7 separate regions of the Homo sapiens genome follow, and all the other regions are linked to region 6. Evidence: promoter capture Hi-C in 16 types of primary human blood cells and fetal thymus (Javierre and others, 2016). All regions are on one chromosome and are shown on one strand. Each heading gives the region's core, a stretch centred on a gene start or on the middle of the fragment in contact. The rest is flanking DNA. Distances are from core to core; before and after follow the strand shown. Region 1 overlaps RTTN (rotatin). Region 2 has its middle 7.8 kb from the start of CD226. Region 3 overlaps RTTN (rotatin). Region 4 overlaps RTTN (rotatin). Region 5 has its middle 96 kb from the start of DSEL-AS1. Region 6 holds the start of TMX3 (thioredoxin related transmembrane protein 3). Region 7 overlaps RTTN (rotatin).

Evidence for each region. The method cuts DNA at HindIII sites, captures the fragments that hold promoters and counts their contacts. A CHiCAGO score of 5 or more calls a contact.
Region 1: a fragment that was not itself captured here is called in contact with the fragment with the promoter of TMX3 in region 6 in 2 of 17 cell types (M0 macrophages and total CD8 T cells); the score reaches 8.3 in M0 macrophages.
Region 2: a fragment that was not itself captured here is called in contact with the fragment with the promoter of TMX3 in region 6 in 5 of 17 cell types (activated CD4 T cells, non-activated CD4 T cells, M0 macrophages and 2 more); the score reaches 10.3 in activated CD4 T cells.
Region 3: a contact is called between a fragment that was not itself captured here and the fragment with the promoter of TMX3 in region 6, in 1 of 17 cell types (M2 macrophages). The highest score is 6.3, in M2 macrophages.
Region 4: a contact is called between a fragment that was not itself captured here and the fragment with the promoter of TMX3 in region 6, in 4 of 17 cell types (total CD4 T cells, naive CD8 T cells, M2 macrophages and 1 more). The highest score is 7.1, in total CD4 T cells.
Region 5: a fragment that was not itself captured here is called in contact with the fragment with the promoter of TMX3 in region 6 in 1 of 17 cell types (naive CD8 T cells); the score reaches 8.4 in naive CD8 T cells.
Region 7: a contact is called between a fragment that was not itself captured here and the fragment with the promoter of TMX3 in region 6, in 6 of 17 cell types (total CD4 T cells, M2 macrophages, naive CD4 T cells and 3 more). The highest score is 6.3, in total CD4 T cells.

Annotation. Positions count from the first base shown.
Region 1 is chr18:70,024,327-70,027,894 of GRCh38, forward strand. It overlaps RTTN (rotatin), which reads right to left. Exons shown (of 49, transcript NM_173630.4): 44 at 396-522. Among named protein-coding and RNA genes, the nearest start is that of CD226, 78 kb to the left of the region's middle. RefSeq lists silencers at 671-720, 731-790. The HindIII fragment of the contact is 3,387 bases long and covers 256-3,568 here.
Region 2 is chr18:69,954,012-69,957,391 of GRCh38, forward strand. It overlaps a transcript of CD226 not described here. Among named protein-coding and RNA genes, the nearest start is that of CD226, 7.8 kb to the left of the region's middle. The HindIII fragment of the contact is 1,345 bases long and covers 1,071-2,415 here.
Region 3 is chr18:70,130,825-70,134,291 of GRCh38, forward strand. The region is part of intron 23 of RTTN (rotatin); the gene reads right to left. Among named protein-coding and RNA genes, the nearest start is that of RTTN, 73 kb to the right of the region's middle. The HindIII fragment of the contact is 5,288 bases long and covers 1-3,467 here.
Region 4 is chr18:70,088,990-70,092,376 of GRCh38, forward strand. It overlaps RTTN (rotatin), which reads right to left. Exons shown (of 49, transcript NM_173630.4): 30 at 3,121-3,231. Among named protein-coding and RNA genes, the nearest start is that of RTTN, 120 kb to the right of the region's middle. The HindIII fragment of the contact is 1,856 bases long and covers 988-2,843 here.
Region 5 is chr18:67,419,035-67,422,658 of GRCh38, forward strand. No RefSeq gene overlaps it. Among named protein-coding and RNA genes, the nearest start is that of DSEL-AS1, 96 kb to the right of the region's middle. The HindIII fragment of the contact is 1,213 bases long and covers 683-1,895 here.
Region 6 is chr18:68,713,159-68,716,733 of GRCh38, forward strand. It overlaps TMX3 (thioredoxin related transmembrane protein 3), which reads right to left and starts at 1,950. Exons shown (of 16, transcript NM_019022.5): 1 at 1,778-1,950; 2 at 688-742. The coding sequence starts at 1,823. It also overlaps a transcript of CCDC102B not described here. RefSeq lists silencers at 1,598-1,697, 1,878-2,007 and an enhancer at 2,208-2,277. The HindIII fragment of the contact is 941 bases long and covers 1,490-2,430 here.
Region 7 is chr18:70,065,956-70,069,595 of GRCh38, forward strand. All of the region lies in intron 34 of RTTN (rotatin), which reads right to left. Among named protein-coding and RNA genes, the nearest start is that of CD226, 120 kb to the left of the region's middle. The HindIII fragment of the contact is 341 bases long and covers 1,504-1,844 here.

The sequences.
Region 1 (3,568 bases), core at 699-3,198, 1.3 Mb after region 6:
TCACCAGACCAACTGTTATGAGAACTTTCAACATGCCAGTCTCCTGCTCTAGAATCTATGAGAAGTTCTAACCTTCACGTGGCTTTTGAGGTCTTACATCATAATTTTTATCCTCTCAATTTTCCTACTAAACTCAATTTCCCATTGCCAGATAATCAGACCAGTCCTCCCTCTCTATTCCCTGCGCTGCCAATGACTCTCTCATGTCAACAAACACACTAAAATATCTGTCTGCTCTCATAATACCTACGAGAAAGCTTGCCTTTGCCCATCATATCCTCAATAAATCAGAGAAATACTTCAAAATATGTATTAGTTTTTCCAGTCCACCTTAACAACATTTATAAAACTAGTATTTTGGTATATTATTGAAAGGCAGTATTGGATCCTATTACCATTTGGAAAATTTGCAGTATAGACACAAAGGAGCTGCAGAGAAATTTGCATCAATGAATCATCCATCAAAATCCAAGGCCAGAGAGAGTGCAAGACAGGGACAAGGTGAGCTTCAAGAGCTGCTTCCTGTTGAAGGAAGGGAAAAAGACAGCATTAGTCTGAATATATGAAAATATAACATTAAAATCAAAACAACAACAGAAAGCCATCAACATAAGACCCAAGGAGAACCCTGTGGATGGCTTCAGCATCCTGCCCCAGCCCCATTGGGCTCCACACATGGCTGCCCTGACCACGAGCCTGACCAATCTCAGGACGTCGCTTCAACACCAGGGTGGTTAAGATGTACCACTAAGTTAGGAAGCATAGAAAATAGCCTGTGTAACATGTAAATTAAACAGCAAAGTGATATCTCACAACACTGAATAAATTCCTGTAAATGCTATGAACTGGCCAAGAAGTGAGAATTTCTGGTTAAGTAAACATTCTGATCAACTCTGAGTCCTCTTTGCCCACCCTCTCTCCCTCTCCTTCTCTCTCTCTGTGTATGTGTGTATATACTCAAAGTAAATTACAGTTTTTGAGTAATTTGAATATATAAAATTCAGTCTAAATATTATGATAAATTGAAAAATTCTGAAGTAACTCAGAGTCTTTATTACAAAGATCAGTTACCCTGGGACAATATTGCAGATAAAATATAGCTGTTTAAGTGCAGCAATATCTATTTTAAATGAACAAGAATTCCGAGGTAATTTGTAGACCCATGATTATGCACGTGAGCATGCACATAAATACACACACCCTATACGATTTCACATAGCATCAAGTGGCAGAAGAGAAGTGATTCCCAATGTTCAACACTCTCCGTAAGCACTGAAGTCATTCCCAGTGCTCTCCCTAAAGTTCTTCCCTTGTTCACCACTCTCTGTGGCACACGGCCCTCCATCTGCAGCAGATGACCTTGTTTACTATTTCACAGAGAAGACAGAAACGATTAAGTACAAACTCCTTTATCTACTCTGCCATTCTGTCCACATAGTTTATCTGTATTTTCATCCATTCATCCTTCCTGTCTGCCCGGTAGTGACAAAGAGGTGTTCCACTTCTTGCCTGCCAGAGATTGATACATCCATCTGTGTTCTGAAACACAGCTCTTCCTGCCTCCTCAGGGATCTTAATCCACCAGTTAGTTCTCCTCTTGCTATCTCTTAAACAACTCGTCCCCAATTTGCTCATTTCTGTGCCTGTATTCAAGTAGTTTACGTGTTAAGAGAAACAAACATACTCATTTCCTTTCATCTTATATGTCCTAAATTATTAATGCCACTATTCATGACCAAACTTCTACATTATTATTGCTGTAATTTCCCTGCCTCACATTTAATCTTTAGCTCATTACCGTTTATTTTCTGCCCTGATGATTCTATTGAGGCCGCTTCTACTTTTGTGGTTGCCAACAACGCTTAAGCACGGTGGCATTTGCTATATGTCTCTTAATTTCCCCGCTGCTGCTCTATCCTGGATCATTTCTGATAAGAGTCTGGATATTTGTCCCTGCCCAAATCTCATGTTGAATTGTAATCCCCAGTGCTAGAGGTGAGGCCTGGTGGGAGGTGTTTATATCTTGGGGGCGGATTCCTCATGGCTTGGTGCTTTCCTCAAGACAGTGAGTGATCTCATGAGATCTGGTCATTTAAAAGTGTGTGGTACCTCCTCGCCAGCTCTCTCACTCTTGCTCCAGTTCTAGTAATGTGATGTGCCTGTTCCCCTTTTGCCTTCTTGTCATGATTGGAAGTTTCCTGAGGCCTCCCCAGAAGCAGACGCCACTGTGCTTCCTCTATACCCTGCAGAACTGTGAGCCAATTAAACCTCTTTTCTTTAATAAATTACCTAGTCTCAGATATTTCTTCATAGCAAGGCAAGAACGGCCTAATGCAATCTCCAAATTCCTTCTCCAGTATTCCCTTCTCAGTTGTTTTCTGCCCCCTCTTAAATGTTCCTGTTTTCCAAAGATATGACCTTGGTTTTCATTACATACTTTCTTGGGAAATTTCAACAATAGTGAGGACCACAAACACCATCTACACATTGATAACTCCTAATATCCCCAGCTTGTATCACTCCTTAGAGTCCCAGACCCATAAAATCTACAGGCCACAAGCCATTTTTCACCTGGATGCCCCAAAGACTCTTGAGGCTAGCACGTGCAAGCATGAATATCGGGTCTCTCACACCTGTGCTCTGCTCTATCATGCACTCTTAATGCATGATAATGCAGTGGCTTAAACTGGAGTTTGGAAGTCATTCTACATTCCTCCTCTTCTCAATGCCTCAAATTTACTCCCTACCCTCCTTCTCCTTTCTACCTGCTCAAGTTAAGGTGTCATCATCTCTTGTCTGGACTATGACAGTCCCCTCCGTCTAACCTTGTCCACTGTTTAATTCATTTACCTCACAGCCACCATGCTCCTTCCAGTATGAAAACCCCTAATGTTATGCATATGCAAACAGCAGGGTGGGGTGGCAGTGGGTGACCTGGTGAATTACCCAATAGTGGCCAACTATTAATAATGAGAACATGCCATACACCTGATAAAAGCTGAAATTGAAATTAACAATCCCTACCTCCATAATATTATATTTATACTCAAGGATAATCTTAATATTCTTTGGATTTACTTCTTATTAAACAACTTAGAAATACAGAAATGCTTTGACTTATTGAGATATCACACTTTTGTAAATGGCTAATGTGATACAAATTGAGCACAATATTTATAACTAGTAGCCAGGTTAGCACTTCATAAATCTTTATAGGTAGATCCCACATGTAAAGTATTCCAGAGTATTTCCCTGAATAAGGTGTCATGAATGAATATTAACTGCACATACACATGAAATTTATATATTTAAATTTACACACAAATACTGACTGTACATCCAGTCACAAGCATAATATCATAAGCATGAAGGAATCATTAAGTTTATTAATGGCACTTTTGTCTTGAGAAAAAGTTCATATAAATTCATATATAGGGAATTTTAATAAATTGTATAAATAAATACTTAATTTCCATCAAACTACTTTGAAATATAAATTGTGAGTCATGTATCTGGCTTTTTAACATCGCTTAAGGAGTAAGTGTGTTCAACATGTCCATTTTCCAGA
Region 2 (3,380 bases), core at 493-2,992, 1.2 Mb after region 6:
AAAAAGTTTAATCTTATGTTGACTAAATCTTAGGTGAACAATGTTATGTGAATTTCACCTCAATTTTTAAAAATTGTTACTAGTGAATAGTATGAGTCCACATTCACCCCAGGTCTTACCAATGAATGAGGCCACCCCATCTTGCTGTTGGCCACGTATTAATTGATTTCATTTGATCCCCCAACCACCCCGGTCCAAAGATGCCAAGTACATTCTAAGAATACAGTACATTAGCATAGTACAGTCTAAGCATAGAGTCCACAGACACACTCTGTCACAACTTTGTGATAACAGCTGGAAATCAATAATGCAAAAGATCATGATAGTCGAGGTTGTCAGATAAATGATTTAAGATATTTTTAAAAATCATTATGTGCTTATTAAACAAATGCCAAAACATATCTATTTTCTGAGGGAGGGGTCAGGGTTGGGTAAAGTGGGGTAGAGGTGCAGGTAGAGAGGTAGAAGGGCTGAGGGCCAAGCAGGCATCTGCAACACCGTGCTGCCTCAAATCCTAAAGGAAATGAGATGAAACCTAGCATCATCCACTCTCGGTGGTTTCTATGATCAGGCCCAAAGTGAACTTCCTCACCCAGGATAAAGAAATGAGGTTCATGGGAGGAGGACTGGAAAAGGGGTACTAACTGGTAATAACTTGTAGGAACTCCTTATTCCCAAGGCATCCAGAGCCAACTAGTCAAGAGATGAAGAGAACTTGTGTATTTGCACCCTGGAATTGAGGGTCCTAGAGGTCACAGATTCGAATGAAAGGGGCAGAAAGACTTGCAGCTGAAGACAAAGTCCAGCTGTTACGACTTTGCTAGAGATGAGCCCTATTTATCAACATCTAACCAAAGACAAATAGAGACAGCGCTTGAGCTATTTTTGTTGTGTCAGCAGCCATTTTTTGCATGATTTATGAAGGGATTTTGGCTTGAGGTTTTTTTTCTAATAGAGCTGTCTGTATAAAAGAGCTTTGTCCTCAAGGAAGTCATTAATCAAAATATTACTGGATTTCTCTACTATTAAAAATGTCTCAGCTAACCACATGAGCATGAATTCATCTCACAAGCTTGCCTCTGAATGCAGACTCCTAGGTGGCCTGGGTGGGTGGGGACGGGGAACACTCTTCAGCCACACTGTTCTTCTTCCTGTAGGCTGTCCACCCAGGTAGAACCTTCCCTGTCACCTCAGTTTCATTGTTTCTGCTACCTACAATATGTCCTGCTTCCCCAGATGTCTCTATGGTTTCTGAGCATTGGGAGGAGTCTCCTAGTGTCTACTCAATGACCCCACCTTCCCCAGTTTATGCAAAAACACCTGATGTGTGTGATGGAGAATCTGCTCTGATACCTTTCGACACTTGCTTGGAAAACTATTCACATGCTGGAAAGCAGAGGACTGTGAACAGAAAATCTAGCTAAACTCAGAACAAGTGACTGGGGCTGGGAAGATTATAGTGTGAGAGGTCGTTTGCTCCCTCCACTCCTTCTCAGATGCGAGGGTTTGCCTGCCTTCTGCTGGGATGCCCCAGCTGTTAAGAGGCTCATACTTCCAGTAAGATTTCCACAGGAGGCCGGGTGCGGTGGCTCACGCCTGTAATCCCAAAGTGAAGGCCGAGGCGGGCGGATCATGAGGTCAGGAGATCGAGACCATCGTGGCTAACACGGTGAAACCACGTCTCTGCTAAAAATACAAAAAATTAGCCGGGTGTGGTAGCGGGCACCTGTAGTCCCAGCTACTCAGGAGGCTGAGGCAGGAGAATGGCGTGAACCCAGGAGGCAGAGCTTGCAGTGAGCCGACATCGCACCACTGCACTCCAGCCTGGGCAAAGGAGCGAGACTCCATCTCAAAAAAAAAAAAAAAAAAAAAATTTCCTCAGGAACACAATAGTCTGGGTTTCTGCTCCCTTCCTCAAATAATCTCATTAAGAGAACCTTTCCAATGTGGGCCACATGGTCTCCTCTAGACCACGATACCCTTAGAACCTTGGCAAGTCATACACATGTCCCCAGGAGTGAGGCTACTGCTGAGTGACCAGTAGAACCCCACTTCCAGTCAACGCAAAGACTCCAGTTGGGGTTCAGCAGGGATCCTCTAAGACAGGGTTCTGAAACTATGGCCTGAGGGCTGGGCGCAGCCCACTGATTTCCATAAACAGTTTGGTTGGAGACAGCCATGCTCACTTGGTTACATACCATCCACCGCTGTTTTTGTGCTGCAATGCTGGAACCAAGAGGTGTTAGGTCACAACTGACAGACACCACACGGCCCACAAAGCTGTAAATATTAACTATCTGGCCCTTTACAGAAAAAGTTTCCCAACCCTTGAGTAGGATAATAAATCTTTGGATCATGGACATTTATTATTTAAGTTCATCCTTGTTCAGTCTTGCTGGAGAGAAGGAAGATTTAAGCTTGACAGACCAGATGCCGGTAAAATTAGCTCAGTTTTCTTATTCTCAAGAACTTTACGATCAGATCTATTATAAATACAATTCTAGAGACAGACTGAGAAAAAGTACTTAACTGGCACCCTTTTACTACAAACTGCACCCCTCATTAAACTAACAGTTCACAGAACACCGAGCACTTAACTTACTCCAGCTTTTTCCGGCAACTCTCTTGTCCTGCTGCATCAACTTGCCATGGTTTCACTGGCAGCCCCCACCCTTTCGCACACGATTCATTTAAAAAGTTGAGCTCAGACACATCCAGTCTTTTTTCTGAGAAGGTTACTAACCTTGAGATGTGAGTGCTGCTCGCTCTAACGCTTCTTCCCATCTGCGTCTTGGTTAAGGACTTTTATCGTATCCTGTTTATCGTGGCCTCCTAGCCTCAACACCCTCTTGGTCACTGCAAGCTCCCCGCTGCTCCCTCCCTTAATTAGCACTGCAGGAGCTGAGGGGAGCGTTCAGCCCACTCAGGAGCTGACTCTGCCCATGCTCTTGAGCTCTTCTCTCTACCAGAACTTCCTCAGATAGCAACTGAAGTGAATCACTAATATTTCATGAAGCGGGGTTTTTTGAAGTCAAGTTTACCTGCTTCTGGAAGCAACTTTACTATTGCAGCTACTCAGACTCATTCCAAACTCAGATAAAGTTCTGTCCCTCTTTTCCCCCAAAGAATCTATAATTTGAAAGGACGCACTTCTCCTTTGTTCTAGCTCTAAATAGAAACTACACTCCCCGCCGAAATCAGTTTGTTTCTTTGCCTTTTCTTCCTCGTGTTTTTTCCTGCCAATCAAAGCACATTAGATTCAGCCCTCTTTTTAAGTCAAGAGGCTTCCTTATCTCTGCCCATATCTAAGTATGTTTCGGTCTTACTTTCTAGATACTCTTTTTTTTTTCTTTGTCTCCCATTCTCCGACAGAAAAAGTA
Region 3 (3,467 bases), core at 365-2,864, 1.4 Mb after region 6:
AGAGGTAATGGACATCCTAATTACTCTGATTTGATCATTATACATTGTATGCTTATATCAAAATATCACATGTACTCCATAAATATGTACTATTATATACCCATAAAAATAAAATAAACTCCCCCAAATAAATAAGCAAGCAAGCAAAGTGCTGTGGGATATAGCTGAAGGAACTCCTAAGAGAATGGGGAACACAGTTCCTTCAAAGAAGCAACAATAAAACTGACAGCCAATGTTCCTACAAAAAAATGGACTCCAACTGCCAACCTAGAATTCTATACCTAGTGATAACATTTTTTAAAACAGAAAGAATTTTTAGATTAAAAAAAAAAAAAACCTGACAGAAATCATTGCTAATATAAGTGCACTACATTAAATAATAAAAAACTCTTAAAAAAACAAATTCTCAGATGGAGGCAGAAAAACCAAAAAAGCAATAAAAAGTAACAGAAACGACCACGGTATACAAATCTAAATGACTATTTACTGCATAAAATAATTATAATAACATCTTATAGAATTTAAAATATGTATAGAATTTAAATACCTGACAATAAAAGAAAAAAAAAAGAAGAGCAAATAAATGGAATTAATGTGTTCTAAGGTCCTTGCATTGTCTGGGATGTGGTAAAAATACTAGTTCACAGTCAAGGAAGTAAATTATAATCTCTATATTATAAAAGAATAATCATCTGTATAAAATATATAGAAATAATGTATATAGAAGAATACTTAGCTGGGCACAGTGACTCATGCCTGTAATCCCAACACTTTTGGGAGGCTGAGGTGGGAGAATTGCTTGAAGCCAGGAGTTCAAGACTAGCCTGGGCAACAAAGCAAGATCCCAATCGCTACAAATAAATAAATAAATAAAATACTTAATGTATATGTAACTACAAGTTAACAGCTGGAAAACATGGACTAATTTTAAAAATTAATCAAGAAAAGCCAGAGAGGAAAAAGAAAGAAAAAAACCACATTGGACAAATAGAAAATAGCAAGCTAATAATCTGTATCCAAAAATATTAGTAATTATAGTAAATGTAAAATGCATTAAAATATTCCATTAAAACTGTAAATAATGTCAGATTGGACAAAAAAACTCAACTATATACTTCTTAAAAAAAAAAAGTACATTTAAGGACACAGAACAGCTAAAACTACAAGGATGGAAAAATACATATCATGCTAACCACTAACCAAATAAAAGCTGGGGAAGCTACAGTCATAAGAGATCGAGTGAATTCTATATGATGAAGCACTGCTAGAGATAAAGAAATAATTTCATAATGATAGAGACAACCCACCAGCATGTTTACAAACTAAATTACATGGCCTCAAAATACATTGTCAGCCAGAATGACAATGTCATAGTGGAGATTTTAACATGCCTCTCTGCTACCTGAAAGAACTTCACACACATATAATAAAGTAGACACAGGGAAGATCTGAACACTATCAATAAACCTGATATATTTTGAGACTTATAGAACAGTATATCCAACAACTACTACATATACATTATTATTTTCAAGTACACATGGAACATTTTAAAAAGCTGACCATATGCTGGGCCATAAAGTAAAATTCAACAAACTCTAAAGAATTAAAATCATAGAAAATATTTTCTAATGTCAATATTTAGCTAAATATTAATAATAAAATAACTAGAAAACCTAATAAACTAAATCTTCACTAGTTACCCCCAATAACTCTAAACAACCCTTGCATCAATAAAAAAAAATCACAAAACACTTAGAAAATATTTTGAACTAAATAATAAAATATGGCATATCAAATTCGTGGAATATACCAAAAGCCATACTTAGAAACATTGATAGCTTTAAATGAAAGGGCGGCTAATAATCAATGGCCAATCCTCCAGTAAGTTAGAAAATGAACAGAAAATTAAGTTTGAAAAACACAGAAGGAAGAAAATAATAAAAAGCAAAGAGTAATACATCAGGACCACTTTGAGATACACTATACATCCATCAGATGGGCAACAATTTTTTAAATGCCAACATTACTGTGAGTAAAAGAGTAATAAAACCCTTTCTCCTCTTTACGGACAAACATGATATTGAGGTAACTCTCTGTCCCTTTACCCAGTAAAATCAGATAGATATGGAATGTCAAGAATTTACTAAGCTGCTTTGCTTATGATGAAAATGACTCCCCACATCTGGACTGAGACATCTAGGAATAAACTATAAATGCATGATGGGATGTCACAGCTCTGAGCAATCTTGAGTGCTGTGGCTCTTATAAGCAACCTGGAAACTATGCCTACAGCACACTTACTAGAGAACATATTTTCTATTTGGGACATGAGGCTTCCAAGCCAAGACAGCTCCCAGCACCCACAAATGTGATCTCATTCTAAGCATGACTACTGCAGTCGTGTGAGTTTCATTATTTAGCCAAACTAAACACCATTAAGACTGGTAATGCAAATACCAAAGGCTAGTGAGGATGTGGGGCAGCTAGTACTTTTCCACTGATGGTAGGAATGTAAATCAGCACAACAACTTCGTAATACTGTCTGGTAACATCTACTAAAGCTAAACATAAATATCCTATATTCCAACAATGACACGTGTTCAAGAATGTTCTTAGCAGTCATTTCTTCATAATAGCCCAAAACAGAAAACAAATTAAACATCCACAAATAGAATGGTAAATAAAAGTGTTGTATATTCTTAGACAGAATACTACATAGAATAAAAATGAACCAACTATTGATTGCTTCATGCAGCAACATGGACAAATCTCTCCAAGTTGAGCAAAAAGCAATATAATAATGCACTCTATTTATAAAGTTCAAAAACTAGCAAAAATAATGTACAGCAATAGAAATTAAAATAGGATTACATTTTGGGGTGGTAGAAGGTAATGAGAAAGCACAAAAAGGGTTTCCGGTCTGTCAGTAATATTCTATGTCAATCTGTGTGAGATAAATAAGTACGTTTACTCAGAAAAATTCAAGGGCTGTACCCTTATGACTTGTATGCTTTATGTACGATATATGTCAATAAAAACAATTTACTTTTTACAAAAGTCTAAAGAGACATGAAAACCAAATACAATGCAGAACCTTAACTGGTTATTGCATTCTGAAAAAATATACACAAAAGATACTTGGAGATAACTGGAGAAACCACACCATGTTATAGAATTATTTTTAATCTTGTTAGATGGGATCATATTGTAGCAGTTATGTAGAATAATGTCCTTAACTTAAGGATGTGCATGCTGGAATATATAGGAAAGGAGTGAATTTATGTCTGAAACTTATTTCCAATTGGTGGGTGAGGGAGAATTAAATATAAATAAAAATATATATTAGGAGAGAGAAAGCAAAGAGACTCATATGTAAATAATTGATGACTCTAGGCTGAACGACATACAAGTATGCACCGTATAGCTTTCAACTTTCCTGTAAATTTGAACGGTATCAAAATAAA
Region 4 (3,387 bases), core at 666-3,165, 1.4 Mb after region 6:
TAATTTCCAGATCCTTTTTATTTTTTTCAAAATTGCTAAGCTTCTCCAATAATTTTCCACTCTTCTGAAGGTAATAGATACTATAACCTTTTCTCTTTTATATTTTCAATCTATACTCGAACAAATTTGATTGAAAATGAGGGTGCTGTGTACTGAACTGTGTCTCCTCAAGACTCGTATGTTGAAGCCCTAATCCCCAACCTGTATTTGGAGACAGAGCTATTAGGTGATTACAGTTAAATGAGGTTATAAGGGTGGGACCCTACTGCACTAGGAATGGTGGCCTCAGGAAGGAGAGAAATCTTTCTCCATGTGCGTGCTCCAAGGAGAGGTCATATGAGCACACAGTGAGAAGGTGGCCCTCTGTAAATCAGGAAGAGTGCCCTACCAGAAACCAACCATGTTGACACTCTGATCTTGGACTTGCAGCCTCTATAACTGTAAGAAATAAATTTCTGTTTTTAAGCCACCCAGACAATGGTATTTTGTTATGGAAGCCTGAGCACACTAATACAGATTTTTGTACCAAGGAGTGGGGATGCTGCTGAAACAAATGCCTAAACACATGAAAGTGACTTTGGCACTGGGTAATGGGTTACAGGCTAGAAGAGTTTTGAGGTGGATGCCAGAAACGTAGACATGGGTAATTCTCATGAGATCTCAGACAAAAATGAGGAAAGTGTTATTTAAAAAAGGTTATTTGAGGAAAGGCAATCCTTGTTATAAAGTAGCAAGAAAACTGGTTAAGCTGTGGTCATGTTCTAGTGTTTTGTGAAAGGCAGAACTTGTGAGCAATGAAATTGGATATTTAGCTGAGAAGATTTCTAAGCAAAGTGTTGAAAAATTGGCTTGGTTCCTCCTGATTGCTTATAGCAAAATGCAAAGGGAGAGAGATGAATTAAAGAAGGAATTAAGAATGGGTAAGCAAAAAGAAACAAGAACAAGATTTGAAAAATTCTCAGCCTATCTGTGCAAAAAAAATGAGAAAGCTTGTTCTAAAGAGAACATGGAGGGTGTGGCTGAATACCCATTTAAGAAAAAGATCACGGGTGCAATTCATGGACTTAATCAGACATCTCAGCAGAAGCCAGGAATAGAGATGGGATTATATCAGCAAAGACATTGCCAGTTTGAACTAAAGAGGACAGAGAAAGATGCAGAGAATGAAGGAAAGCTGTTGGACTTCCTGGATTCTGTAAGCAAATATGTGCTACAGTGGTCCCTCCCTTATCCATGGGGAATACATTCCAAGACCCCCAGTAGATGCCTGAAACCACAGATAGTGCTGAGCCCTATAACTACTATGTTTTCTCCTACACATACATATCTATGGTAAAGTTTACAAATTAGGCACAGTAAGAGATTAACAATAACTAAAAATAAACTAGAACAATTACAACAATATGTTATAATACAAAATACATAAATGTGGTCTCTCTCTCAAAATATCTTATTGTATTGCACTCAGCCTTCTTGTATTGATGTGAGATGATACAATGATTACATAAAGAGATGAGGTGAGGTGAATGATGTAGGCATTGTGAGGGAGGGTTTGGCTACTACTGATCTTCAGGGTGCTTTTGGAAAATGAAACCTCTGATAAGGGAGGACTACTGTATTCTTCAATGAAAAGAATGACCCAAAAAATGATTCAGAGATCCCCAGGCTGCTAATCCCACCACAGGACTCAAGGGTGGCTTTTCCTCCTTGGTTTCAAAGACCTCTGATTTCTGTGGGCCAGAATGATGACCCTGCCCAGTGCTTCAGGAACATGGCTGCCCTTGAAGACAGCTTTATGGGCGGGGCTCTTGAAGACAGCCAAAGGGGTGGGGTCATCCCACAGAGCCATCTAGACAGATGCTGTCACTCTGGTGGGCCTGTAAGGCACACCATCAAGCCAAAGAACATTATCCTTGAGCATTAACATCTAATGAAATTTGCTTTGCTAGGCTTTGGACTTGCTTGGGACCCATCACTTCTTCCTTTTTTTCCTATTTCTCTCTTTTGGAATGGGAATGTCTATTCTACCATCATCTTTTGGAAGCATATAACTTGTATGGGTTCACAGGTTCACACCTGCAGAAGAATTCTGTTTCAGGAGGGTTTATATCTGGAGACTTACCCAGATGTGGTTTAAATGACATTTAGATGAGATTTTGGACTTTAGACTTTACAGTTGATTTGGGAATAAGTTAAGACTTTTGAGGTTGTTGAGGGAGAATAAAAGCATTTTGCATGGAAGAAGAACATGAAGTTCAGGGGCTCAGGGATGGAAAACTATGAACTGAATTGCGTCCCTCCAAAACTCATATGTTGAAGTCTTTATGCTCAAGTGACTACATTTGAAGACAGGGTTTCTAGGAGATAATTAAGGTTTAAAGAGATCATAAGGGAGTGGTCCTATCTCAATAAGACTGGTAACATTATAATAAAAAAAAAAAGACAAATCTGTCTCTATACCACCCCTCCCTCCCCTGCCCCACATGCATGGACCAAGGAAAGGCCACGTGAATACACAGCAAGAAGGCAGCCGTCTACAAGCCAGAAGAAGAGCCCTCACCAGAACTTGACTATGCCGGCACTCTGATCTTGGACTTTCAGCTTCCAAAACTTCTATGAGAAAAGAAGTGTCTGTTGTCTAAGCCACCCAGTCTGTGGTATTTTGTTATGGCAGCCTAAGCTAAAACAGGGCTTAAATAAAACATAAGGTAGAGTCACTACAATAATCCCATAATATAACTATGTATATGTATATATGTTTTGTGTCTTTTTTTTTTTTTTGAGATGGAGTCTTGCTCTGTTGCCCAGGCTGGAGTGCAGTGGCACAATCTCAGCTCACTGCAAGCTTCACCTCCCAAGTTCACAGCATTCTCCTGCTGCAGCCTCCCAAGTAGCTGGGACTACAGGTGCCTGCCACCACACCCAGCTAATTTTTTTATATTTTTAGTAGAGATGGGGTTTCACTGTGTTAGCCAGGATGGTCTCAATCTCCTGACCTCGTGATCTGCCCACCTCAGCCTCCCAACAAGCTGGGATTACAGGCATGAGCCACCGCACCTGGCCCCGTGTCATTTGTTTTTTAATCTAAACACAATACACTTGATTCTCCTTCACACTCACCTCTGGGTCCCGATCAACCCATAATGGAATCAACCAAGCCAATCCTTGTTGAGTAGGAATATGTTCTTCACTATGACTACCCAAAGGCAAGAACCAAAGTGACATCCACTCCTAGAGGGAAAAAAGGGAAACAGAAATATTTGAGGTAAGTTTCTAAAAATAAAATGCAGGAAGGTTAAAACAAGAATTTTTAATGAAAACAACGTGAAAATGTATTTTAGACTTGGTTTTAATCCATTATTCAGCCAAAAAAGGCAAACAAAAAAA
Region 5 (3,624 bases), core at 39-2,538, 1.3 Mb before region 6:
ATCAACCAACTAATGGCTTAGACATGTCTCTCAAGCATTTGCTTTTTATTCTTAAAACTTTCATAAAGTCAAGTTTTAAAAAGTTAAATTACAGAAGATTTTGAAGACATTGGTATAAAACACTGAAGCCAAATTGCTAATTTTGCCATTTGTTCACCAATCAACTTAATTTTAGTAACAGATTTTTGTTACCCGCTTTATAATAAATTATAATCAGGTAATTTATAGAAAATCTTGATTTTTTTTGTTCAGTATAGATATTTGCATTAATTTAAATTTTTTAAATTGCATTGATATATCATTTATCTTGATTTCTGAGTTTTTTGATGCCCCTAAAATTTGGTAGTCAAGGTGACCAGCTCATTTGCTTCACCCTATTGCCAGCCCTGTCCTAAACAGCTATTTCTAGTGCAGAAATAATTGTTTTGAATTTGAAAAGACAGAAGCTTGATTGCTGCCAGAGAATTGCTTGATTTAGGCTGCAGGTGGCATAAATCAGTATTTGATGAAACCTAGGTTTAAATAGGAATGAGCAGAGTAATTGGCACCTAATTAACATCAGTGATAAGATGAAGCAGCAAGACTATTCTTGAATGTGTAGAATCCCAGGGTTTTTATGAACTCTGCTGCTGTTTGTTTGTTTGTTTGCTTGCTTGTTTCTAATCTAAGTACTCTTGAATAAAGCTTGACACACTTAATTTCTATTGATACATTGGCTTATTTGTCATATTCTAGTATTCTATTTACCCAAATCTATGATATTGTTTAGATGCAAATATTTAATTTGAGGTATCTTCAGCTATTATCCTATTGATGTGAAGTAATTTTCACCATGCATATTATATTATGGTATTGTAGCTTCTATACCTCAAATTTGATTGACAAAATATATTCATTAGGATTTAGATTAGGCTGTTGTTGCAAGATAAATACCTGAGACTGGGTAATTTCTTTATAAAGAAGAGAGGTACGATTGGCTCATGGTTCTGCAGGCTGTACAAGCATGGTGCTGCTGGGATTCTGGGCTGCTGGGCCTCAAGGAGCTTTTACTCATGGCAGAAGGTGAAGGGGAAGCAGGCACGTCACATGGCCAAAGCAGGAGCAAGAGAAGTGGGGGAGGTGCCACACACTTTTAAACACCCAGACCTCGTGAGAACTCATCAGTATCACCAAGGACAGCATCAAGAGAATGGCCCTAAACCATTCGTGAGAAATCTACCCCCATGATCCAGTCACCTCCCACCAGGTTCCACTCCAAAACTGGAGAGTGAAATGCAACATGAGATTTAAAGGGGACACATACCCAAACTGTATCAGGATTGAAATCATGACGGATTTTTTCCTGTTGATATTATTGACCTCACCAAATTCTCATAATTCAGCATTTTTTTTTCCATTTTCTCACATGGAATGCGAAGCAGCATCTCTGGGTCATGAATTTTTTTTTTCTTTAATATCAGTTTCTCTGTGAGTACCTAAAACTTTTCAAGGGATCTCACGTAGCTTCTCAAGAGCTAAGCCAGATAAAACTACTTAAAATTATAAATAGCAGAATTACTTAATACAAAAGTAGTACATGCTTAACTTAGGGAGAAAAAAATGTGCATATCAGGAAACAAAAAGATAAACTTCACATATATAATCTCAAACCCAAGAAGAACAGTATTTAGATTTTAGTATTTTTTGTTTTACAAAAAAGGAATAGTAATTACATATTCCTGGTAACATAATTATTTTCCTAACACTTTATACAATAAAAATTATAATAAATTATATTTCTCTAATTATTGAATATTTAATCTATCCATATCAATTATATATTTTTTTTTAGTCTTACAATAATGCTACAAGAGCTAAACCTTTGTAAAATTGTTTCATATACATTTCCTAGGATAAGCTTTTAGAAATTTAGGAGTAGAACCATATGCTTATTTTTAAAGGTTTTTTTTTTTTTTTTGAGATGGAGTCTCACTTTGTCGCCCAGGCTGGCTTACAGTGGCACGATCTCGGCTCACTGCAACCTCTGCCTCCCAGGTTCAAGCGATTCTCCTGCCTCAGCCTCCTCAGTGGCTGGGATTACAGAAGACCACCATCACGCCCGGCTATTTTTTGTATTTTTAGTAGAGACAGGGTTTCACCATGTTGACCAGGCTGGCCTCGAACTCCTGATCTCAGGTGATCTGCCCGCCCCGGCCTCCCAAAGTACTGGGATTACAGGTGTGAGCCATCATGCCTGGCCTCATTTTTAAAGCTTTTGATAAGAGATTTCAAATTGTTTTTCTTTTTTTTTCATTACATAAATTTATGGGGTACAAGTGCAATTTTGTTACATGCATAGATCATGTAGTGGTGAAGTCAGAGCTTTTAGCATATTCATCAGCCAAATAATTCATATTGTACCCAATAATTTCTTATTGGGTTAAAGTTTGTATCAATTTACACAGTGTACACTAAGGGCCATTCTCCTCAACTCTTAATCAAAACTAAAAATTAACACTTATTTTTATTTTTGTCAACTAGATAGGTGAAATATTTTTAGTGACTGTGCTATGTGCACTTATTTTATGACTTAGTAAACTGATCTTTTTTTTTTTTTTTAAGTACACTCAGCGGCCATTTCCATGACTTTATTGGAATATGCCTTTTCTGGTACTTTTACAGTTTCCTATTGGGAAGATATTTTCTCATCAGTTTTAAAAGTCTTAAAGAATTAACTATATGAATTATTTTGTATATGTTGCAATAATTTTTCAAGACTTTTTTTTCCTTTTTAATTTTAGTGTCGTTCTTTATGTAAGCTTCTTATCCTTTGCATGAGTCATATCTATTGGTATTTTCTTTAGTTTCTGCTTTCATCCTTAGACTTGAAAAAAAAAAGCCTTACAAATTTCATAAGTATATAAATCTATATTAGTGTCATTTGTTTCTCAGTTTATATTGAATCTCTTTGTTATTTCACTGATATTTTGAGATAAAGTGCTGACTTTAATTCACACATTTATCTTAGTTATTCCAAAAATATGTATTCCAACACTTCAACTTTGTCACCATGTCCTAAAATTTTGCTTAGGTGTACAAGACAAAGAGGAAATAGCTTAGACTCAGGGGTGCAACTAAATTCAAATCCCAGAGGTACTACTTACATGTTAGGTGGCTTTGGATACTTCACCTTCTAAGTCTCAATTTCCTCACTGATAAAACTACAAAGGAACTACATATCTATTTATGAGGTTGAAATTATCAGTTAAAATAATACAACTAAAATGTTTAGCCCTGTTTGGATGTCTTATAATTCATCTGTGAGTATTATAATACCATCATTCCTATTAACTCTATAAATTTTGTTATAATGTATACATCAGTAACTCTAACATGCTTACTTTCCTGTATATACATAATCATTTTTAATTCATAATGTTTAGGGTGGCTTTATGTGTACAGAAAGATTAAGCAGAAAGTACAAAGAGTTCCCATATACCACGGTCTCCACACTCACAACCTCGCATGTAGACATCCCAAACCACAGTATAACATTTGCTACAATCCATGAACCTATATTTACCTACATCATCACCCAGAGTCCATTATTTACATTAGGGTTCCACTCTTGATATTGTACATTTT
Region 6 (3,575 bases), core at 700-3,199:
GTGAGAGAGAAAAGGACTAGAGTAGAAAAGTGCCTCCGCTGACACCCTCAATAAAGATGTTTTAGCAGAAGTGCTCAGGAAATGCCTCAGGTGAGGTCCCAATAAGGAGGCTGCTAAACAGAGACCACTGGGTTGGGAGTGTAGACATGCAAATGAGCGTGGCTGGCCTGGGAGGCCGAATCCTTGACTACCACTCCCTCCAGGGACTGTAATGCACCGGTTATACACCAAGTTTGGTGTAGGGAGGGCACCTTCCCCTATGCCAGAAAAAGCCTTGCAATTGTCTATGGTCAAGCCTGAAAGATCACACACAGGAATTTGGGTCTGAAGTGAACCTCCTCACTTACTATAAGCAAGGCTGATTAATGCTGTCATACTATGAAGATAAATACAGTACAGTTACCAAATTCTAACACCCATTCAATATAATTAAAGGAAAAAGACATAAATACAAGGTAAGATAATGAGGAAAAAAAGAATATGTAAAAGTTTGCCACAGTTTTTTGATCTCATAACTATTAATAAAACTCTTCTGGGCACACCCTCACCTTCACTTACAACAAGTGAAAAAAATGAGTGATATATAAAAATTGGTTCCAATCTAAAATATTAGAATCACATGCAAATATTCAGATATCTGAGTTGGACAGTTAAAATAATATTTTAAATATATATATGTATACTCACGATTCATCTAAATCTTCTACAAATCCTTTACAGACGACCATATCAAGTACAACAACTGAAAAAAAAAGACAAAATGTACACAATAAATGCTGATTATTTGGCTCATACCGTATAAGCTTAGTCATCTCTGAAGTGTTTTTGACCTTTCACAACCTACCAAAAAATTCATCACTGATGCATCCCAGGGTGCAAATGATGCAAAAGCAAAGGTAGTTCATCCATTTAATAAATATTTAGTCTGTATGCAACCATATCGTGACCGGCCAAGTTCTAGGTAAGCCAATAAATCTAATACACACAGTTCCTTTTTCCTCCATATTTTCACTCTCATCTTACGTCTCTTTTTAACCATCCTATCTTTTTGGAATACAAATAGACAGCATTCTTCTTTATTTCTTTTGCTTTAGTAGCAATTACCTCTTCCGTAAAAACTCCAAATGCCATTCAAAATATTTCCCCTCAAATAGATACGTAGGAAGAAAGTCGAGCTGCAACTCTAATACTTATTACACGGCAGTGCCTGACACAGAGTGGGCTCTAAAAGGTTGTTAAGTGAGCGGACCCCAGTGAGAATGAGGGCACTCCATGCTGACGGGAGGCAGCTGAGAACCGCTGACACACACTCAGGTCCTTTTCACACCGCACAATCCCGGCGGCCTGACCCTGATCTGTCCTCGACCACCCTCTCTTGAGTACTGGTGGTAAAAATCCTTAAACGTGACAAGACTCGGAACCTAAAGCCAAGGCAAGATTTGGTCGTTAAGCTGGGACGGCGGCATCCTTCTTGCCCATCAAAGGAGTAAGCTTTATTGAAACTTCTGCCACAATGAGAAAAACACAAACACAAGGCAGCGCGCCCTTCCCACGTCCAGCATTGGTCCGGCACAGCGGCGGCGGAAGGACCCCAAGGTGTCCGCTCCGTCAGGGCCAGGCAGGGTGGCGCGGCGGGGGCGGCAGGACGCTGCCGGGAATGGGTGGGCATCTCCACGAACCCCGCAGGCCTCGCCCCAGACCCGGGTCCAATCCCGGCCCCACGGCGGGGCCAGGTCCCACGCGCCCGCCAGCGTCCCGACCGCTGAGCCCCCATTACCTGTGGCGCAGAGCCGCAGGGCCGTCCAACTCTTCCACGCTGCCATGCTAGCCCGGGAGAGCTGCAGAAGCTGACTGTGCAAAAGAGGGATAAAGACACTGGGGTCCGCCGCCTGCCCGCCCGGAAAGGGAAACGGAGCCGACCCGGAGCGGAAGAGAAGCACCGCGCTAACTACGGGGGCGGGGCTACCCGGCCAGTCTCCGTCTCCGGCTATGCGCGGGAGTGCGGCGCATGCGAGGGGAGTGCGGCGCATGCGACAGCGCCTGCGCAGTCATGTCTTAAGAATCCTTTGCGCTCTCGGTGCCCCCCTCCACGCCCAGGAGCGTGGGAACCCTGCTTAAGGGCTTTACTAGGGAAAACGGTGCTGGTTCACTGGGGCGCGTTTCCGGGAAGGTGAATACCGGTGAAAGTTATGCTGAGGGTGAGGTAGGCTCTGACGACGCACTTGCAGGTTGAATACTGGCACATCATTTACTTGTTACTCCCGTGTGGTGAGTGCACCTGTGGGTTTTGATGCTGGATCAAATTCCTGGAAAGAGGCGCGCATTAAGACTGCGGATTGCTGAGCTGCGCGACACTCCGTATTTTTCCAAAACGTATTTGTAATATTCTTTCAACCTGTTTGCATAATGGGACATCTCTTAAATGCAGCAAGCTTTAATGCATTTTTGCCAAAGTAAGGATTGCCTCTTTAAAAACTTTCTCTTGAAACTTGAGAACATGAAGTTAAGCGTAGGATATTTTTTGATGGCTCTTTTCTGATTATTTTGGAACTAGATAAAGTAGTATGAAATATTTATATTGCTACCTGTTTTTTCTTCTATACGACAATGATTTGTAAAAACCATATACTTTTATAAGACGGTTACTGCAGCAATCACTACTTACGAACTAGATGAAATTTTTATGGGACATAAGGTACCAGAGAATTTAGATCAAACCAAATTTTGAAAACCTGTGACAACAACAGAAGGGGGATATGATGTCAGCCGGTTCACCTTAGGTTCAAAATTCCAACAGGCAAAAATGTCATAAAACGTCGTTATTCCTAGTGACTAGAAGATTAAATTGCACTCTAATTGAGAGCAAGCCCTAAATGTCACCCCCTTTGTGCATGCAGCATGGTATCCAGCGCAAGCCCTCTACAGATTCAATTTTTCTTTTTCTTTCTCTTTTCCTTTTTTTCTTTTTTTTTTAAGAAAAAAGTAGACTAAAACGTAAGGGGACTGTTGAAATGATGGGAATGTTCTCCCGGTGGTGGTGGAACAGCTTTATAATAGTACCATCGCCTCGATACTCTTATACAGAAGCTTTTCTACTTTCTTGGCAAGGTCTCTGAATGACCCATATTCAATTTTTTTTTTTCATTCTCATGTATTTCAAAGTTTTCTGTCTTCCACAGCATGCAAAGTGAAATAATTTCCTCTTATATTTGCGTTACAGTTTAAGTTCACATGTGGACAACAACAAAAGCCAGTTGACCTAGATCTGTGCTTTTCAGTAGTGTAGCCACTAACCACATGTGGCTATTGAGCTTTTGAAATGTGCCTAGTGTGATGAAATAACTGAATATTTATTTTTTTTAATTTCAGTAAACTCAAAAACTGACACTCGATTCAGCTATTGGAAAGTTTTTTTAATGTGGTTGGAACAACTGAGGTATGTGAATCTACTTTTTCAACTGTAAATTTTATGAAATCTAAATACTGATCAAGTCCCAGGCATGGGTGGCTCATGCCTATTATCCCAGCACTTTGGGAGGCTGAGGCAGGAGGATTGCTTGAGGTGAGGCGTCTGA
Region 7 (3,640 bases), core at 424-2,923, 1.4 Mb after region 6:
TTACAGTACGGAAAATGAAACACAGGCAACATACACACAAGATATCCTTAAACAAGGAGGTTTAAGACAAAATTATACTAGTTAGGATAACTAGAAAAGATTCCATATCTTGGGAGTTACAGCAGTTTTTTTAAATGGCATTTCCACTTCTTAAAGGAATTGTTATCATTTACATAAATCAGTAACTCAAAGGAGCAGTATTGACTTCAGGCCCATTTAGGAGTTTAAGGTTCCCATAAGGCCAATTCCCTCATTGCCCAAATGTTAGAAAGGCTAAAATATACCACCTTAACTATAATTTATTGTGATATTTTGCATTTCTTGATTGACAATAAAGATATTTTTAATGTTCCAAATGGCACATATAAATTTTAATAGTGCCTAAAAAATTAGAAGTATTAAAAGATTTTTCTCTACCTCACCTCCTATCAAGGAAGAACACTAAAAAATTGTGCCAGTTTGCTGAGATTGCTTCAGAATACAACATTAAATATAACAAAATCCGTGGAAAGCAAGTACAATTTCACCTACAGGTTTATAATGAGCAGACCGACCTTCTAAGACTGAAAAAGCGCAAAGTGATGTGTTTGCGCTAAGAGGTGTTCAACTAAGCACCTCTTAGTTGAAAAACACTTATGTGGTGAGGTCAGATAACTCTTTTCCTTACCATCAATTTCTCTTCTGTGAAGTAACATGAAGTGCCCATACCTGGGTAGCCTCCATATCAGTACATGCAACACAACATTAGCTATCCATAGAAGTTATAAACCATCATTCCAGACTCAGATCCTATATAGCTCACAGTATTTGTACATTGATTGTGTATATATCTTAACACTTAGAGTACCTTAGAATTACCATGATGAAATGAAAGCAAAAACTAAGGTTATTTTCATTTGCAGTTTCTAATAGTAAAGAGAATATAAATTTGAAGAAATTACTAAAAATGGAATATACAGTTTTTTAAATCCCCCTTTTAACTTGAGCCCTTAACCATCTTTCACCACATTAAGTAAGTATAACAGTCATGATGCCAAGAAATAAGTGAGAAAGCTGCAGCTAAAAAATGTAGGCTAAGCACATAATCTAAAAAGTAAATCTGGAAAAAAGTTCAGTCTAAATAAGTCAATCATAAACAAACATCAAATGCCTTATTTTATATAGTATTAGATCCAGATACTAAGTAAAAATAACCTAAAGCTTGTTTATTTTTTTTTTTTTTGAGACGGAGTCTCACTCTGTTGCCCAGGCTGGAGTGCAGTGGCACGATCTCGGCTCACTGCAAGCTCCGCCTCCCGGGTTCACGCCATTCTCCTGCCTCAGCCTCCCGAGTAGCTGGGACTACAGGCGCCCGCCACCACGCCCGGCTAATTTTTTGTATTTTTAGTAGAGGCAGGGTTTCACTGTGTTAGCCAGGATGGTCTCGATCTCCTGACCTCGTGATCCGCCCGCCTCTGCCTCCCAAAGTGCTGGGATTACAGGCGTGAGCCACCGCGCCCAGCAAGCTTGTTTATTTTTAAAAATATATTTGCCTACAATTTGGCAATGAGAGATATGTGAAAAAATGTTCCTGTCAACAGATATCAAGACAACATTTATAGTTCTGTGAAGAAAATAATCCTATGCCAAGACTGATATCACAAACTATGCACAAGCTAATATATCTGGCTCCTGCCACAACTCTTTTGGTTGTATAAGAAAAGTTAAGGGGATAATGATGCTGAAATCCTTTATCATTTCACTGAACATTCTTTCAACTGATAAAGACTCAAGAAGGCCTTATTACTGATATAAATAGAATAGGTACCTGGTTTGCGGTTTCAACGATCGGTGTGGGAAAAGAAAGCTTATAAGGGCCCACTAAATACCTGGCTCATTAGAAGAAAGCAAAGTTGTGATTCATGACAAAGGTCAGGCATTAATAAAGATGTGATTTTCCTTAGTATAGTCCACAGAAGGGATACACAAGTTTAGAAAAGATGCTTTTAGAAAGTACCTTATTGTATTATAACTTACCCCATGTGGTTGGGGAAACACAATGATTGCTTTATATGGTGCTTTAAAATTGATTATGGATGATTTATATTTCTACTAGCCTCTATTTTTTAAGTGTGCTAAACTAATATATTGCTATTTTAATAACTAAAAGCAAAAAAGTATTAAAGCAAATTGTCCCAGTTCTATGCTCAAATCTTTGCTTGTTTAGATATAATCTCCAATCGATAGTATTTGGTTACATTTGATAAAGTACATCGATATGTAAACATGTTACTTTTCACCTTAAAATCCAAGTAATAACTAGACAATTTTGGCATTAAGTATTAGCTACTGGAAGGTGCAGTATGAGCCTACGAAGCTATAGGTACAAAAAGCCTGACCTAGTCCACGTCCTCATTTAGAGAAAAGGACCACAAGTTAAGGGATTTGTCTGAGTTGAGACTAGGATTCTCAGTCCAGAACTGCATTCATGACAGCATAAATTCGTTAGAATCAGAGGAAGTCCTCAGACGTACCTCTTGAGAAAGCTGGCTGGCCTTGTTTGCGAGGAGAGGCTTGCTTCTTTCTCCCTGATCCCCCTGTGTCCCCGCGGAACTTCAGCTAGACTAACTTCAGCTGCCCCATCCCAGGTGAAGGAGGAGGAATTGGCTTAGTTTAAGAGCAAACTTAGTCTGCTGAAGTCATCCGTTCCTGTCAAGCTTCTCGCTGCTCTGCTCTGTACCTCACAGTAAGTAGGATAACTAGGGTTGTCCTCTTACAACAGCGAGAGTCTAATTCTTGTATCTATCACTTGCTCAATTCATTAGAATGGTCTAAGTGCAAAATCACAATCTAGACTTTTCCCTCGCTTTCACATCTGCCACATGACATATCCTGAGATCTTCAATTTATAATCCCTCGGTAAGACAAAAAAATCTGAATTTGAATATATTTCTAGCCTTATTACTTTACAGATATTACAAAAGACAATACAAGCTTTTTAGAGCAGGCTGATGCTACTTAAAGGTACTGTCCTAAAACAGACTCAGATTAGTGTAATGGATGTTGCTAGGGGATAGGAGCTGGGGAAAAGGGGAGATGTTTGGTCAAAGAGTGCAAACTTTCAGATAAGATGAGTATGTTCTGGGGATCTAATGTGTAGCATGGTGAATATGGTTAATATGGTCTAATGTGTAGCATGGTGAATATGGTTAATATGGTTAATAACACTGCACAGTCTACTTGAAAGAGAGTAGTTCTTAAGTGTTCTCACCACAAAAAAAAAAGGTTGACTCTTAGGTGACAGATGTGTTAACTAATTTGACTGTGGTAATCATTTCATCACATATACATATGTCAAGTAATCTCACTGTATATCTCAAATATATACAATTTTATTTGTCATTTTAGCTCAAAACTAGGGGAAAATAAAAAAATAAAATGGACTCAAATCTTGCTTATAAAAACTGAAAAAAATTGTTCTTCAGTGTGTTTGTAAGCAGATTTGGTAACTAAAGAAGGTTTCTAAATTATGCTTCAGTGTAAAATAAGCAGCTAAAATTAAGAAAGTCCCTTTGAAATCACTGAAAATAGCAGAGTCATTTGCCATATCCAAGTAGAACTGGAATGTAAAAAACAATTTCTGTCATATAAGCAAAAATGC